5 separate regions of the Homo sapiens genome follow, and regions 1, 3, 4 and 5 are each linked to region 2. Evidence: promoter capture Hi-C in human tissues and cell types (Jung and others, 2019). All regions are on one chromosome and are shown on one strand. Each heading gives the region's core, a stretch centred on a gene start or on the middle of the fragment in contact. The rest is flanking DNA. Distances are from core to core; before and after follow the strand shown. Region 1 has its middle 52 kb from the start of CCR3. Region 2 holds the start of CXCR6 (C-X-C motif chemokine receptor 6). Region 3 has its middle 26 kb from the start of CCR3. Region 4 overlaps LARS2 (leucyl-tRNA synthetase 2, mitochondrial). Region 5 holds the start of CCR1 (C-C motif chemokine receptor 1).

Region 1 (3,011 bases), core at 102-2,601, 350 kb before region 2:
TCCAAGGTTCAGAATTGCTGTATGCCCTACAACAACGTGGCTGTCAGCTGTCCAGCAACCAGAGCAAAGAGCAGAACACATCTATGTTCTGATTCTTTTTTATGTTGTTTGTTTGTTTGTTTTGAGGTGGAGTCTCGCTTTGTTACCAGGCTAGAGTGCAGTGGTGTGATCTCAGATCACTGCAACCTTTGCCTGCCAGGTTCAAGTGATTCTCCTGCCTCAGCCTCCCAAGTAGCTGGGACTATAGGCATGCGCCACAACTCCCAGCTAATTTTTGTATTTTTAGTAGAGGCCGGGTTTCCCCATGTTGGCTAGGATGGTCTTCATCTCTTGACCTCGTGATCTGTCTGCCTTGTCCTCCCAAAGTGCAGGCGTGAGCTCCGTGCCCGGCCATATGTTCTGATTTTTTAGACTCAGAAGATCAGGCAAGGTAGTTCCCCAGTAGATTCACAGTCATTCTTGGTACAGGATTCAAGGAGAAAAATGTCTCAGAGAAAATGGGTTTTCTTTGAGAAGACACAGAAGCGATGAAGCCTGTCCTGAAGTCTTTTACATCTTGAAAAAAGTGCTTAAATAAGCTTAGAGTCCCACACTGGTGTATCAAAGGCTCTGCAAGTCTCACATCTTCCAGAGCTTCTGGAGCACAGAAGACCATCTTTGACTTCTTCTTCCTCTTGTCCTGTTTTTCTGTAGCAGTCATTAATTAGTGTGTCCTGGAGAACAGGATGGCAACTACCAGTGCAATGTAATGAACGTCCTTTTGAAGATCCATGGAGTAAAGACAGCTTCGAAGGGCAATTTTATTTTATTTTTTATTTATTTTTTGAGACGGAGTCTCTGTTGCCCAGGCTGGAGTGCAGGGGTGCCATTTTGGCTCACTGCAACCTCCGCCTCCTGGGTTCAAGTGATTCTCCTGCCTCAGCCTCCCGAGTAGCTGGGATTACAGGCACCTGCCACCACACCTGGCTAGTTTTTGTATTTCTAGTGGAGATGGGGTTTCACCATGTTAACCAGGCTGATCTCGAACTCCTGACCTCAGGTGATCCACCCACCTCGGCCTCCCAGAGTGCTGGGATTATAGGAGTGAGCCACTGACCCTGCCTCAAAGGGCAATTTTAAAATAGAGCACTCCTCACTGGGAGTCGGTGGTGACAAGCTGAGGCACAGTCCAGTAAGCAGTGTTTCGAGTGGGGAGAGAAAGCCGGGGAGTGTCTGGCTCGGGTAGGCATTCAATCTCTCTTTCTGCACTCAGAGAGCAGTTCCTTGCTAAGGGACGAAGGCCATTCTTAGCACATGAGCTATTCCTTTCTTTCCTGATTACAGGAGTTGAAATTTCCTTTTCATGGGTTTCCTGAAAGCAAAAGTAACATCCCTGGACACCTTGCTGGAGAGGCAGTGTATTACTTGTAACCAAACACATATTCCCCCAGTAGGAAGGTCACATGAGTAAAGGAAAGAAAGGCCCTGTGTGTTGGCCCAGTCTCCACTTGTCCATGAAGCTTTCTGTAGCAGCCCCAATTTCAGCCCCTTCTCTGTTGTTTGCACATTGCCTCAGCCTCCACTTCAGGCAGTCTCTTCTGTCTGCCTTATTGCCTATATAAGCATTTCTAAAACTTTAACCTGCCTACAAATCATCTGGGAGTCTTGCTAAAAATGCAGATTCTGATCAGTAGCTCTGGGGTGGGGCTTGAGATTCAGCCTTTCTGAAAAGCTCCCAGAGGGTATGGATGCTGTTAGTCCATGAACTTCACTGTGAATAAGGAAGCCCTACATCAAACCATGGCACTGCTGTTCATTGCCTTCCAATTGTTTCACATCCTCTGTGCATGCCATAATGCTTAATTCAATACTGTGTCCATGGACGCTGGTTCTAAGTGTTTGGTGGGCACCATGGAAGCTATCAGAAAATCACAAAAACTAACCTGATTCTTCAGTTTCAGGAATTGGAGCTAGGATCATGGACAATTAAAGAGAAGAAAACCTCTGCCCCTCTCGCAGCCCCAGGATGTCTCAGTTTCAATTCCTGTGTTGAAATCCCCTTCTCCTCACCTGTTCTTTCACCTTTTTGTCTTGGCTTCTGTAGAAGGATTGAAACTAACAACCTTTGAGTTTAAGTACTTAAAGTAATTTCCTTCTTGCAGGTTTTGAGTTATCTACATGATTCATCTCCCCCTCTGCTTTTTGAGAGTCTACAACTCCCTGCCCCAGCAAGCCCCCAAGCCCACTCACTCCTGGGATGTGTCACAGTTGCTTTGCCAGTTCCCTGGGACTCCCCCTTGCTCTGTGATATCAGCCTTCTTTCTGGAATAGAGAAGACGTGGATGCCTGCCCCATCCACATCTCACTAATCCTTTCTCTGTTGTTTGCACACTGCCTCAACTGGGGATCCTGTGTGCCGTGCTTTCTGCAGAAGAGCCACACAGCCTCAAGGTCATGGAGGCTGTGAACATGGGTGGGACCAAGACGCAGCTCAGAAACAGGTGGGTGCTTATTATTCCATTGCTGCTCGCCTCACCCAAGGTCACTGAGCAACGTCTAAGGTGTCATAACTGACACATATGAATCAATAGGTGACCGGAGGAAGTAGGGACTACCCTGGGCCAGGGGCAGGGCAAATGGCTGGATGGCCAAATTGCATCTGAAGGAGTAGCTGTCACATGAAGAATCCTACACAGGGGCCGATGGTGTGTCCTGACCCAGGTTTCTGGTTCCATCTCGTAACAGCTTAATCCACTGGGTGGGGCCTGGCAGAAAAAGTACAGACACCATCTAAATCTGTGTACAAAATCCAGGTGATCTGTCCTTTTGGGCCACAATGCAGAGTGTGAGTCTAAAGAAAGCTGAGGACATCCAAGATGAGGGGAGAGGGCCTTCCACAGCTAGGCAGGATTTCAGGGCCCCCTACTGGGCCAGAGATTTAAGGATGCCAGAGTTTCTTTTCCCTCCACAACAAAGATAGCCTGACAATGTATAAAACTAAAATTTTATGGCATGTTGTTGTAGGGGGTAGA
Region 2 (2,831 bases), core at 273-2,772:
AGGGTGATAGGTCAGCCAGTAGACATCCTGCCCCCCACAAGCTCTCTGGGGCACTGTATTAAGTAGGTCAGATGATGTGTATGTGTTATTGATTCACATGGGCAAAAACATATTTTTTCATCATTTAAAATATGAAACAGGTGGCTTTGCTCTTAAGAATAATGTTCAGCTCCCCATTATTGCTTGACTCGCTCTCGCCTTTTTTTGGTATCTTCCTGTTCCAGCTTTTGCTGGTCCCTTATGCTGCCATTACACATTTCCTCAAAGGACCTGTGCAAATTCATGTGTAATAATTGGTAAACTTTGATGTATAATAATTGGTAAACAGATTGGGCCTGGACAGTGCTGTGCAAATAGAGTATGAAAAATTACTTTCCCTTCTAGGCGAACTAAAAACATTCATTTCTTTATCCTCTATAATTAAAATCCTATTTTGTTTTCTGAAAATTAAAAAAAAAATCTACAACTTTGGAAGTAGTGTAAAAGTCTGATAATGATGAAGCAAATTACAATTCATACATAAAATAGAATATACTTAAATGTTTAGGAAGTATTTTTACTGATTTTGGAAAATGCAATACAGTTAAATTGCTAAGAACAGTGTAAACACAAAGTAAATATGCAAAATAAGTATTAACTATTACTATTACAACAAATAGATGTCAAAAGGATATAAAATTGTGATTCTTAACCTTTTTTGACCATAAACTCCTTTGAGAATCTCCTAAAAACTGCAGACCTTTTCTCAGAAATAATGTATATATATATACACACACACACACACACACAGACACACACGCACACACACAAACACCCCTACAATTCTGGGAGTCCATGAACCCCTTGAATCCTTCTGCCATGTATTCTGTGGGCCCTCACATAAGAGTTCATGATAAACTATGTGATTTTAACTGACCGTACTTTTAGAAACCTGGAAAAAATGATCACATTTTATTAACAGTTGGCCTCCAGCTGGTGGAATTATGGGTGACTTATTTCTTCCTTTTTTTAAAATAGTTTTCAAAGTTTCTACAGTAGTATGTTGATTTATATTGAAAAAAGAACATAAATGATAATCTGATAAAACAGCCTGTCTTATGCAAAAGAAATGAAAACAGAGATTATTCATTGAGCAAATATAGACAATAACTAGATTCTCCTTATCTCCCTGGGTGGGTCTGACTATGCCATTACTAGCAGTACCATCAGCCTGCAAGCACTAACTGTGTGCCTGGAAACATGTTCAGTAGTTTTCATGTTTCTCCAGTTTAACCCACACAGCAGCAAATGGCAGTGATGGAATTTGAACGAAGAGCAGCTGAGCTCCATAGCCTGGCATTTTGCACTGTACCCTACTACAGACAGGAATCTGAGAATACCAACAATACCTGGGGTTAGTCCTCCCTGTCTTCTTTTCAATATAAAGAGTAAAACAAATGACTCACCAGCAGAGATGCTTTGCCAGTTTGTTCCAGAGATGAGCTTGCTCATGAAGCAAGGTCTGCCTCTACTTCTGTGATGTGGTTCATGTTTCCGCTGAACATTTTTTAAGAGCCCTCAGCTGGTTACTATAAGAGACCCACCCCCTACTCCCGTCCTTCAGATCAGAATCCATATGACCAACCCGCCCCTGTGTAACGCGTGGGTCAGAGATGGATGGGTGACTGATACCCCACACTCCCTTCATTCTGCTTTGGGGCTGATTCTTCTGTCAGGGCCTGACGAGCTTTATTCGTAAACTAAAGGGGAACAATAAGGAGGTTTGGCTCTGGCCATCCACCGAAGATGGTGGCATTTGTACCTTAAAATTACTTAATTCACTAGTCAGACATCTTTTTGGAACAGTTAGGGTCTGGGCCAATGCTGAGTCCATGGTATGGGCTGGGTTCTGCGTGCATATGCAGCTCCAGCATATGTGATAGCTGTTAAGCCCCATAGCAGCCCTGCAGTGGATATTATCCTGCCTTTATAGATGAGAACACTGAGGACCATAGCCAAAATAACAAGCCCTGGTGCACACAGCTAGAAACTGGAAAATCGAAGATACACACTCAGGTATCTGTCATTACCAGACCAATCAACAGCATGATGATGGGTCTGCCAGAGGGCCTGGTGCAGCCCCACCTCCTAAGCCCACACCACTCAGGCACTCAGCAGGCAGTGCCCACCCACCCTGCGTAGGCTGGCTGGAATCATCTGGTTTCCTTGGGCTGCCCTCTGTACTCCTGGAATTCCCCAGATGTTGACTACTTTGATCTCAGTACAGTTCTAGTTGTCAGTCTCCATGATCTAACATTACTGACCCTTCTGGGAAATAACGCTGGAAGGCAGGAATTGGAGGCATGTCAGCCTGGGTCACATGCCCCAGTGCCTTGTAGTGGAGAGGGTACTAGGGAGAGGCATGGACTCGATGTCTGCTTTCCCAGAAGCAGCTGCCTTCTTGTGGAGGTGCCTGGCCTGCCTTCTCTGGCTCTGCACTCCCATTCAGGCTGCTTCTCTCCAATGCTGTTGCTCTCTCCCACCTGCTAGGCAAACCTTCTCATGTGGCTCTTCCTAAGGGCAAATGTCAAGCATTGGGAGCAGGGACCAGGAGCAGCCTCAGGATCCAGAGACTAACACTCATTTCTACCGCAAGCCTGGCCCTATGCTGGATGCTTCTATGTACAGCCATCTAATCCTAGTCACGTACAGATAGGCAAACAGAAGATTAGAGAGATTAGCCCACTTGCCCAAGAACACACATCCCTGGCAGTCACCCAGGACTGTCAGGCTGCAAAGCCAGTGCTTCCTGCCCTGCTCTGAGTATGGAGCTGTGCCAGGGGGCCCTGATA
Region 3 (2,957 bases), core at 60-2,559, 330 kb before region 2:
TTAAAAATTCAGTGCCTTAGCCACCTAAGCCACATTTCAAGTGCTCAAGTGCTCAATAGCTGCATGTGGCGATCATATTGGACAGTGCAGATATAGAACATTTCTCTCAGTGTATTTCTATAGTTCTTGAACAGAGCTGGGATGGGGAACAAAGCAGCACACACCAATTCATGATTTGGTTATGTGAAGTTTGAGAGAGTCAAAAAGCTCCTAAAAGCTTTCAAGGGTAAGAGGAGTATGGTATGAACAAGCATCTCTATCCTGCACTTGTGGTTACCTAAGGCAGATGCAACTTCATAATGCAAGAGAGAACCAGTGATGTGTAGTTCAGTTTTTAAATGATTGTTTTATTTACATTTTGGCTGAACCACAAAAAAGAGACGTACTTCAAATTGTCCTAGCCAAATTGAGATTCATGTTGCGTGGTTTAGAGTGTTACAGAGTTCACATCCTGTGTTGGCCATGCAGAGCTCTTAGATAGGCAAGACAGTGACAAAAGGCCAGGCCACTCACCAGAGGGTGAGGATGGATGGAATCATGACCAAGAGAATGCACTCCCTTTCTCCAAGCATTGGATTGGGAAATAAAAAATGTCTTCTGGTCTTCACGTGGAACTTTCATCTGGGTTGAATTCAAGCATTGGTAATTCCTTTATAAGGCATGATCATGAACTCTGGCAGTGGAGAACAAGAGCAGTGTCCAATTCAGTCTGATGGTGAGCCCCCTGCAGGCAGCATCCAAGTTGAGATTGAATTGGACATCCCCAAGGAGCTCACTGTCAGACTGAATTGGACACCTGTGGGTGTGCCCTTGTTTGTTTCCTCAGAACTTAGCTAAGAACATGGTGGATGCTCAGCAAATGTTTGCTGAATGGTAAATGACCAAATGAATGAACAAAACCTGAGTACCCCTTAGTGAACAGTGGGAACCATGCCTGGCCTCACGACCAATGGAGGTAATGCTGTGGGCTTGTCCACCACTCTTCTCCTCCTTTTTTTTTTTTATCATATATTTTGTAAACTTAGAGCCTCCAGCTCCTAACATTTTAGCAAGATTAGAGTCTACTTGGGCCACAGAGGGGCCTTAGAGATGATTTAATCCAACTTTTTTATTATATGGATGAGGAAATTGGGGCCAAAAGAGGCCAAATAATTTGTGCCAGGTCACAGGATTAATTCATGGCAGGAGGCTTCTAATCTCCTTATGGCTGGTAGGACGTATGCCTACTTCTGAACATCTACATAGCAGCCTAGCCTTTTATTTTTTATATCATTCTAAGGTTGTATTTATTTTTTGAATGAGAAGTATGTCCCCATGATTGAAAATCCAGAAGGCACAAAAACTCATGCTTCTTTTCCTCTTCTCCAGCCACCCCATATTGGTACTGGTTTCTTTTGTATCCTTAGAGAGATGGTCTATACACCTAAGTACAGAGTAAAACGTGTGTGTGTGTGTGTGTGTGTGTGTGTGTGTGTGTGTGTGTGTCTGTGTTTAAGCATATGATACACTCTGCTTTGCCCTTTGATTTTATATTTTCATTTTTTAAAATTTTTTACAACGTCTTGCTCTTGTCACTCAGGCTGAAGTGCAGTGGCGCCATCTCGGCTCACTGCAAACTTGCCTCCCGGGTTCAAGTGATTCTCCTGCCTCAGCCTCCTGAGTAGCTGGGATTACAGGTACCTGCCACCACACCCAGCTAATTTTTGTACTTTAGTAAAGATAGGGTTTTGCCATGTTGGCCAGCATGGTCTCTATCTCCTGACCTCGTGATCCGCCTGCCTCGGCCTCCCAAAGTGCTGGGATTACAGGCATGAGCCACCATGCCCAGCCTTGCCCTTTGATTTTTGCACTCAGCCATATATCACTCCTAGTGCTTTAATTCATCCTTCATGCTATCTCTTGGTCAAATTCTCCTGAGTGCTCCTGGAACCTCTCTTACCAGCTGCTGATCTTTCCTTGCCTCCAAACTTGCACTCACCTCCTAACTTCCCTCCTGCATGGTTCTGAGGCCTCCCCTCCATGCTCTATGTGTTACCAGATGTATCTTCCTACATTGTTTTTCTCCCCTGCTCTAAACCCTTCCATAGCTCCCCTTGTGTGAAGTTCATGGCCCACCCTACCCTGCCCATGCCACCCTCCTGTCCACAAATATGCATACCCTCCTCTCTCCCCTTGGGATGGGGCATTCCCTTGGGTTAAAGGTGCCTTCTCCCAAATTCTCTCCCTTTCTAAATCCTGCCTTTCTTTCAGAAAACTGCTCAAAAGCTACTTCCTCCATGAAATCTTCCTCCCCTCACGTTCCCACAAGAAGTCGTTTTTCCCTTCCTGGCCCAGGCATAGCATTGAGTGTCTACCCCTTTGCACCAGAGTTGTTTGTTTCCATCTTATACACCTTCTAGACTGAAGGTTTCATAGGGGCAGGGATTGTGCTTGTCTTACACATTTTTGCATCTTTCACTTAACCTGAAGCAGTGTTTGTGCACCCTGTCCGGATCACCTAACAGACAGCTGTTGGATGGAGAGCTGGCAAGGCTCACATTGCACAGTCATATGATCTCTACTGAGAGGCATAAGTTAATCAGAAGCTTAGAACTTACTTCCCCTAGAAGCCATAACTAGGCAGAACCAAAGGGAATGGAGACCTGAGCCATTCCTACTTTTTTGTGGGGGATACTTTTACATCATAAGTTGCATGTTTTCCTCCTTAGGATGTAGCTCACACAAAGTCATACTCATCTTTGTATCTACTATAGCTTCTAGGGCAGGGTATTAAATATAGGCACTCAAGAAAAGCTCAACTAAATAAAAATGATGGAGTAGAAAGACCCACTAAACTGATTGGTTTACGATGAACTGACATACATACGCTGTCCTGGGTGGTGATTGTTTTTGGCAGAGCCTAGATCACAAGGGTATTTTACATTTCCTTCTGACACTAAAATCTGCAATTTCAAGGA
Region 4 (3,155 bases), core at 440-2,939, 450 kb after region 2:
TTGGTCACCCACGCTGGAGCGCAGTGGCACAATCATAGTTCACTGCAGCCTCCAACTCCTGGGCTCAAGCGATCTTCCAGCCTCAACCTCCCAAGTATCTAGGACTACAGACACACACCACTCTGCCCAGCTAATTTTTTCTTTTTTTTTTTTAATTTTCTTTTTGAGACGGAGTCTCGCTCTGTCACCCAGGCTCGGTTGCAGGGGCGTGATCTCGGCTCACTGCAACCTCCGCCTCCAGGGTTCAAGCTATTCTTGTGCCTCAGCCTCCTGAGTAGCTGGGATTACAGATGCCTGACACCACACCAGGCTAATTTTTATATTTTTAGTAGAGATGGGGTTTTGCCATGTTGGTCAGGCTGATCTTGAACTTCTGACCTCAGGTGATCTGCCTAACTCGGCCTCCCAAAGTGCTGGGACTACAGGTGTGAGCCACTGCACCTGGCCATCAGTTAATTTTTTTAAAACATTTTTTATGGAGACGAGGTCTTGCTACGTTCAGTCCAGCTGGTCTTGAACTCCTGGCCTCAAGTCATCTTCCTGCCTCGGCCTCCCCAAGTTATGGGATTACACATGTGAGCCACTGTGCCCCAGCTGTAAATGTTTATTTTAAAATAGAAATTTGATTTTATTTTTTAAAGCAGTCTGAAAATATACTCAGCTAGAGACTGTATATTGCTTACTGAATGCGATGCAACATATTTAAGGTGACTTGTCATATAATAGCCCAATAACTCTCACCTAACAGATACTAATAGAAAGGCTTTCTCATACTCTTGGGTCCTAAAGGACACTGGAGAGGAAAGGAAATGTCATTTCCATTTTCTGGCTGGGACCTTCGGTGGGAGGGGCAGCACTGGCTGGCGACAGACCTCTGTGTTGCCAAGGTAATGCCGTCCCTTGAGGTCAGCCAATCAAGCAAACCTTTGCCTTTGGAGGACTTCGAATATTTGTGAATTGGTTCCCTGACACCTCAAGCCACCTTTTTCCCCAGGATAGACTTGGCTGGCTTCAGCTTTGAGGCTAGAAAAAAGAGCCTGGCTACCACCACATATTTGCATCTTAATATAGTTTGGTGTTCTCCAGTCACTGTACCAGAATTCTGATAAAATTTTTAAAAAACACTTTTTTTCTTCGTGAAAAACAGTTCCCTAAAGAAATTCAACTGCCAATCCAGGCGACAGAAAAGAAAGGAAAGTGAAGGATGGTATTTGGCCGGAAAACAAGTTTGGGATATATTAAGGAGTGAAATGTTGAAAGTAGCTACAGCTCAGATTTATGATCCACTCAGGAAACCACCCCAGGAAGAACTCGTGCTGGGGCTGAAGCTAACTACAGTGTGTCATGAGGGAAATGAAGTGCTCACTGCTGTTCACAAACTGGGGGCTGTGACGGTCTCAGGATGTCTCTCCCGCCACGGTAACTTGAGGTCTCTCTCATCTGTGTGAAGGCTTTCCTTTGAAGCACTCTGAGAAAGGAAAGAGCCTGACCTCACTTGCATTCTAAGCCAGTTGTTACTACATGAAATGCACCAATGGCCCCTTATAGAGGGAAGGCCCTGAAGGGGAGCCCCTCTGTGGGCCAGAGAAGGCCATGCTGGTGGTTCCCAGCCACAGTCGTCACCTTGCACCCTTCCTGCCTTTGCAGGGTGTCTTTCACTCAGGATCCCCCTCATTTCTTTTTTTTCTTTTTTTTTTTTTGAGAGGAAGTCTCACTTTGTTGCCCAGGCTGGAGTGCAGTGGCACGAGCTCAGCTCACTGCAACCTCTGCCTCCCGGGTTCAAGCGATTCTCCTGTCTCAGACTCCTGAGTAGCTGGGATTACAGGTGCGTGCCACCGTGTCCAGCTAATTTTTGTATTTTTGGTAGAGTTGGGGTTTTGCCATGTTAGTCAGGCTGGTCTCCAACTCCTGACCTCAGGTGATCAGCCTGCCTCGGCCTCCCAAAGCGCTGGAATTACAGGCGTGAGCCACCATGCCTGACAAGGATCCCCCTTATATCTGATATGAACTCAAATTACAGAATCACAACACTGCAGGTTGAAATTCTGGCAGGGTGAGGGCAGGAGTATCTGTCTCACTAGAAAGATATTATTTTAGAACCACGAAGAATAGGGAGGCATATTTTATATGTAGGCAACAGGGTTCCAGAATGTTTCTGCCATGGACAAGAGCAATTAGGCAAGGCCCTTTTAAGCACAATGCTGTGTTTTTTCCTGGGCTCTGGAAGAGTTTCTTTCGGTTCTCATTCTCTCTCTTTATAAGGCTACCTACTGCTCTCTTTTCCTTAATTTGTTTCTTTTTTTGGGGGGGGCGGGGTTCAAATAAACACATGAATACAGCTTAAAAATCAAAATGGTACTGAAAGATTTACAATGAAAAACAGTGGTCTCCAGCCCCAATTCTTTCCTTGCCTCAGGCCTGTCTCTTAGCCACTTTTAATTCTTTTGGTTGTTTCTCCCAGCAATTATTGAAAAAAAAAAACATGTTTATACTCTTTATTGATTTATCAATTTAGGAAATGATCTACTATGTAGTAAGAGGTGAGGCTTCTTAGCGGTCTCACCCTCCCTACCTGCTACCTTCTCTGTAGAGTTACATTATTCTTTTCAGTTAAATAAATAACATTACATCTTTACAATCATACAAATGCAGTTCACTGCAAGGAGGGTATCACAGTAGCATTTCCTTCTTTTTCCGTTTTGTATTTGTGTTGTACTTGGGATTTACTTGGCTGTGAATAATCTAACTTAATGATGTAGCACTCTCCCTTTAAGAGAGCCTGTTCCGAGGTGCACAGTTGACTGACAGCTTCCAGCTGCTGCATCTGTGGACCCACTCTGGTGTGTTCCTGCCAGCCCATGTTGCTCTCCCAGGCTGCTCCCAGGAGAGTAGAGGGAGGGGCTGGAGCAGAGCCATTTTAGCCTGACTGTAAGACTCTAATGGACAAGCTTTGCTTGGGCCTTCCCACTGGCCAGGTCGAGGCTTTCTCAGAGTTGTGCTGTGGGCTGAGGCTCCTCCACCTGATCCTCCTTCCTTTCCCTTCTCCTTTCACACCTGTCACAGCTCCATCGTGGTCTAAGAGCACTCTCTGCCCACTCCTCCTCTTCTCCCCTTTAATCTGCACAGGCATTTCCCCCCAAGAAATCTCTTGCATG
Region 5 (2,853 bases), core at 222-2,721, 260 kb before region 2:
AAAGAATGGATCCAGCCTCTTTCTTCACCACTATATCCCAAGCACCTAACACAATGTCCGGCACATTGTGAGTACTGAATAAATATTTGTTCAATGAACAAGCAGATTTGCCTGGTACATCCCCTCTGTGGAATGAAACCTAGAGCAGAGCTGGAAGCCTGGTCAAGGATGAGGTACTGACCATGTCCCTTACTTTAGACAGGATCAAGGAAAAGGCAGGCCTCACAAGCCTCTGTTCTCTTTGGAAACTGATCCACCAGCAAAGTACTGCAAATAGCCAGGCACATGCAGACCCCCATTTATTTCTTTGGGGTGAAGCTGAGTGATGATCAGATGTCAAGCTTAGGCCATCTTGTCTGAATTCTTCATTTTACAGATAAGAAAACTGAACCATGAAGAGACAAGTGATCTTTTCAAAGCACATTCACACTGATGATTTCTGAAACAGTGCTTTGTAGCAATGCCGTGAGGAAGGTTAGGGGTGTCCCCACTTTATAGAAGACACAAGGGCAGAGGCAGAGTAGGTGTTGGCAGTTGTGAGGAGAGTCACAGTACTCATCATTTGTCAGACATTTTTCACTGTGCCAGGCACTCTGACATTTTTCATGTACAAGTTGACTTCGTGCTTCTCCTCTGAGGTAAGCATTCAATACTCCCATTTAGCAGAGTAGGAACCAAGACTTAGAAAGGTGAGTGATCTGCCCATGTCACAGGTGGAGAGCTGGGATTTGAACTTGGCCCATGTTTGACCATCACGTAAAACAGGAATGGGGCATCAGAAAGGGAAGGTCAAAATGTAACCAACAGACCTATATTCCCTTCATGCTGGAGGTTCCTGGGGCAAAGCCACTCTCTGAGGTTTGGTGGGGAGGGACTTGGGGAGCAGAGAGCAGAGGGACAATGAGCTCCCAGAAGCCGAGGGGCATAGGGTGCCAAAGAGAAGCTGCTGCCTCTGTGAGCACCCATGTCAGTTAGTTTTGAGGAACAGGACTCAGGGTTCCAGTTTAAATCCTTCCATTCACAATCTTTAAGAAGAAGAAAAAAAAGAAGTCTGCCGCTGACCACAAGAGCTCTATGCCCTGCCCCCATCCCACATACACACATCCCACACTTCAATTGCTCCAAACATTCTGGGAACATCTCACTGCCACCCACCTCACCCAACTCAGCTTCACCTGCCCCCAATTCCCTTAAGGCTGAGCTCCCAGGGCCAAGACTCAAGAGGCTCAGAGTGAGCAGAGAAAATCCTCGCAGTTAACTTGGCTTCCAGGAAGTGGCCACTGGTGGGCGTTGTGGCCATTCATGAGCACCAAACCACACAAAAAGAAGAACTTTGTCCCTTTCTTGTCATTTTGAAAGACTGTGAAACTGGAGCCAATTCTCCATCATCACACAGGAAGCTGAGTACTTCCTACTTGGTCAGGATCTTGAAACTTGAATTCATAAAAACCCAGAAAGCCCCAGAAACAAAGACTTCACGGACAAAGTCCCTTGGAACCAGAGTAAGTGTCACTTGTCTTTTCTGTCTTATCTGTTACTGTGGAGGGCAGTGTTGTTCAAAGACATGCATGCAGCTAGGGGCTCCTCAAAGGTAGGGGGAATTCTTTGAGTAGGCTGGGCAAATGTCTAAGTAGCCCATGGATGCATCTCCAAGGCAATTAATACTGTAGCAATACTGAGAATGGTGGATTTATAAAGCTGGGTGCTCAGATGAAATATAGGCTTTTTTGCTAAAAAGGAAGCTTACTTGAAGGATTGGCTTTTGGTTACTGATTAAGAAAGTCAGTCAGTACTAAGGGACAAAAGGTGTTTTCTGTGGAAACCTATTCAATAAGAAATTACTTGGCGGGGCGCAGTGGCTCACGGCTGTAATCCCAGCACTTTGGGAGACCGAGGCAGGTGGATCATGAGGTCAAGAGATGGAGACAATCCTGGCCATATGGTGAAACCCTGTCTCTACTAAAAATAAAAATTAGCCGGGCATGGTGGCGCATGCCTGTAGTCCCAGCTACTCAAGAGGCTGAGGCAGGAGAATCACTCGAATCCGGGAGGTGGAGGTTGCAGTGAGCTGAGATTGCACCACTACACTCCAGCCTGGCGACAGAGCAAGAGTCTGTCTGAAAAAAAAAAAAAAATTGCTTGCCAAATTCCCCCATGTAAAGGAAAACCAAACATGGTGTATGAAGAAATTATAGCAAGAGGGAAATATTAGCTAGAAAAATCTTGGCAGATGCAAGGATGATTTGATACTGAACCTATCTCTTAAGAAGACTAGAACCAAGGATCCTCAAAATTGGCACTGCTATCTTTGGAAGAGGTAGGCTTTCACTCACCCAAAGGCAAGGAGCTGGCCAGGTGATCTTGGGGGGCATCTGTTCTGCTCTACTAACAAAGACACAGGTCAGGATTTTGTTCTGAAGATAGAGGGGCATGGTGGCTCCGTATAGGTATCTACTTCATAGGTGGTCTTGGTGGGTCCCAGATTTCAAAGAAGAGATGGAAACTCCCAAAAGTTTGCACAACCTGGCACCAGGCTATGTGCCACTCACTGATCCTTTAGTTCCCGCACCGAGCAGTGGGACAGTGCTGGACTGTTCAGAATGTGGGGCCTGGGCAGTGATGTGCTGGTAAATGTTCAACAACTGACTCTTCTGAAGAAAAGATCCCTGCTTTATAACATTTGTTGATTTTCATGGTATAAATGCCCCCACTGTGGTCAGTTTCAAGCTACCAACATGCTGAATGTGGAGTGGGGAAGAGATGCACGCAATTGGCATTTATAAACCAGTATAAGCCAGCCAGCGCACCATAGGCCTGGGTGTCTTTCACCATCACAGACTGCTCTATCTCTGC

What was found. Contacts are between HindIII fragments. The study calls those that stand out against the background at their distance.
Region 1: a fragment that was not itself captured here is called in contact with the fragment with the promoter of CXCR6 in region 2 in 2 of the 25 tissues and cell types used here (IMR-90 fibroblasts and lymphoblastoid cells).
Region 3: a contact is called between a fragment that was not itself captured here and the fragment with the promoter of CXCR6 in region 2, in 1 of the 25 tissues and cell types used here (adrenal gland).
Region 4: a contact is called between a fragment that was not itself captured here and the fragment with the promoter of CXCR6 in region 2, in 1 of the 25 tissues and cell types used here (lymphoblastoid cells).
Region 5: a contact is called between the fragment with the promoter of CCR1 here and the fragment with the promoter of CXCR6 in region 2, in 6 of the 25 tissues and cell types used here (IMR-90 fibroblasts, bladder, mesenchymal stem cells and 3 more).

The regions. Positions count from the first base shown.
Region 1 is chr3:46,293,380-46,296,390 of GRCh38, reverse strand. No RefSeq gene overlaps it. Among named protein-coding and RNA genes, the nearest start is that of CCR3, 52 kb to the right of the region's middle. The HindIII fragment of the contact is 4,646 bases long and covers 1-3,011 here.
Region 2 is chr3:45,942,155-45,944,985 of GRCh38, reverse strand. CXCR6 (C-X-C motif chemokine receptor 6) reads right to left here and starts at 1,522. Exons shown (of 2, transcript NM_006564.2): 1 at 1,446-1,522. The region is part of intron 14 of FYCO1 (FYVE and coiled-coil domain autophagy adaptor 1); the gene reads left to right. The HindIII fragment of the contact is 14,146 bases long and covers 1-2,831 here.
Region 3 is chr3:46,267,159-46,270,115 of GRCh38, reverse strand. No RefSeq gene overlaps it. Among named protein-coding and RNA genes, the nearest start is that of CCR3, 26 kb to the right of the region's middle. The HindIII fragment of the contact is 5,988 bases long and covers 1-2,957 here.
Region 4 is chr3:45,496,452-45,499,606 of GRCh38, reverse strand. All of the region lies in intron 14 of LARS2 (leucyl-tRNA synthetase 2, mitochondrial), which reads right to left. The region is part of intron 2 of LARS2-AS1 (LARS2 antisense RNA 1); the gene reads left to right. Among named protein-coding and RNA genes, the nearest start is that of LARS2-AS1, 12 kb to the left of the region's middle. The HindIII fragment of the contact is 5,058 bases long and covers 1-3,155 here.
Region 5 is chr3:46,206,931-46,209,783 of GRCh38, reverse strand. CCR1 (C-C motif chemokine receptor 1) reads left to right here and starts at 1,471. Exons shown (of 2, transcript NM_001295.3): 1 at 1,471-1,502. The HindIII fragment of the contact is 6,364 bases long and covers 1-2,853 here.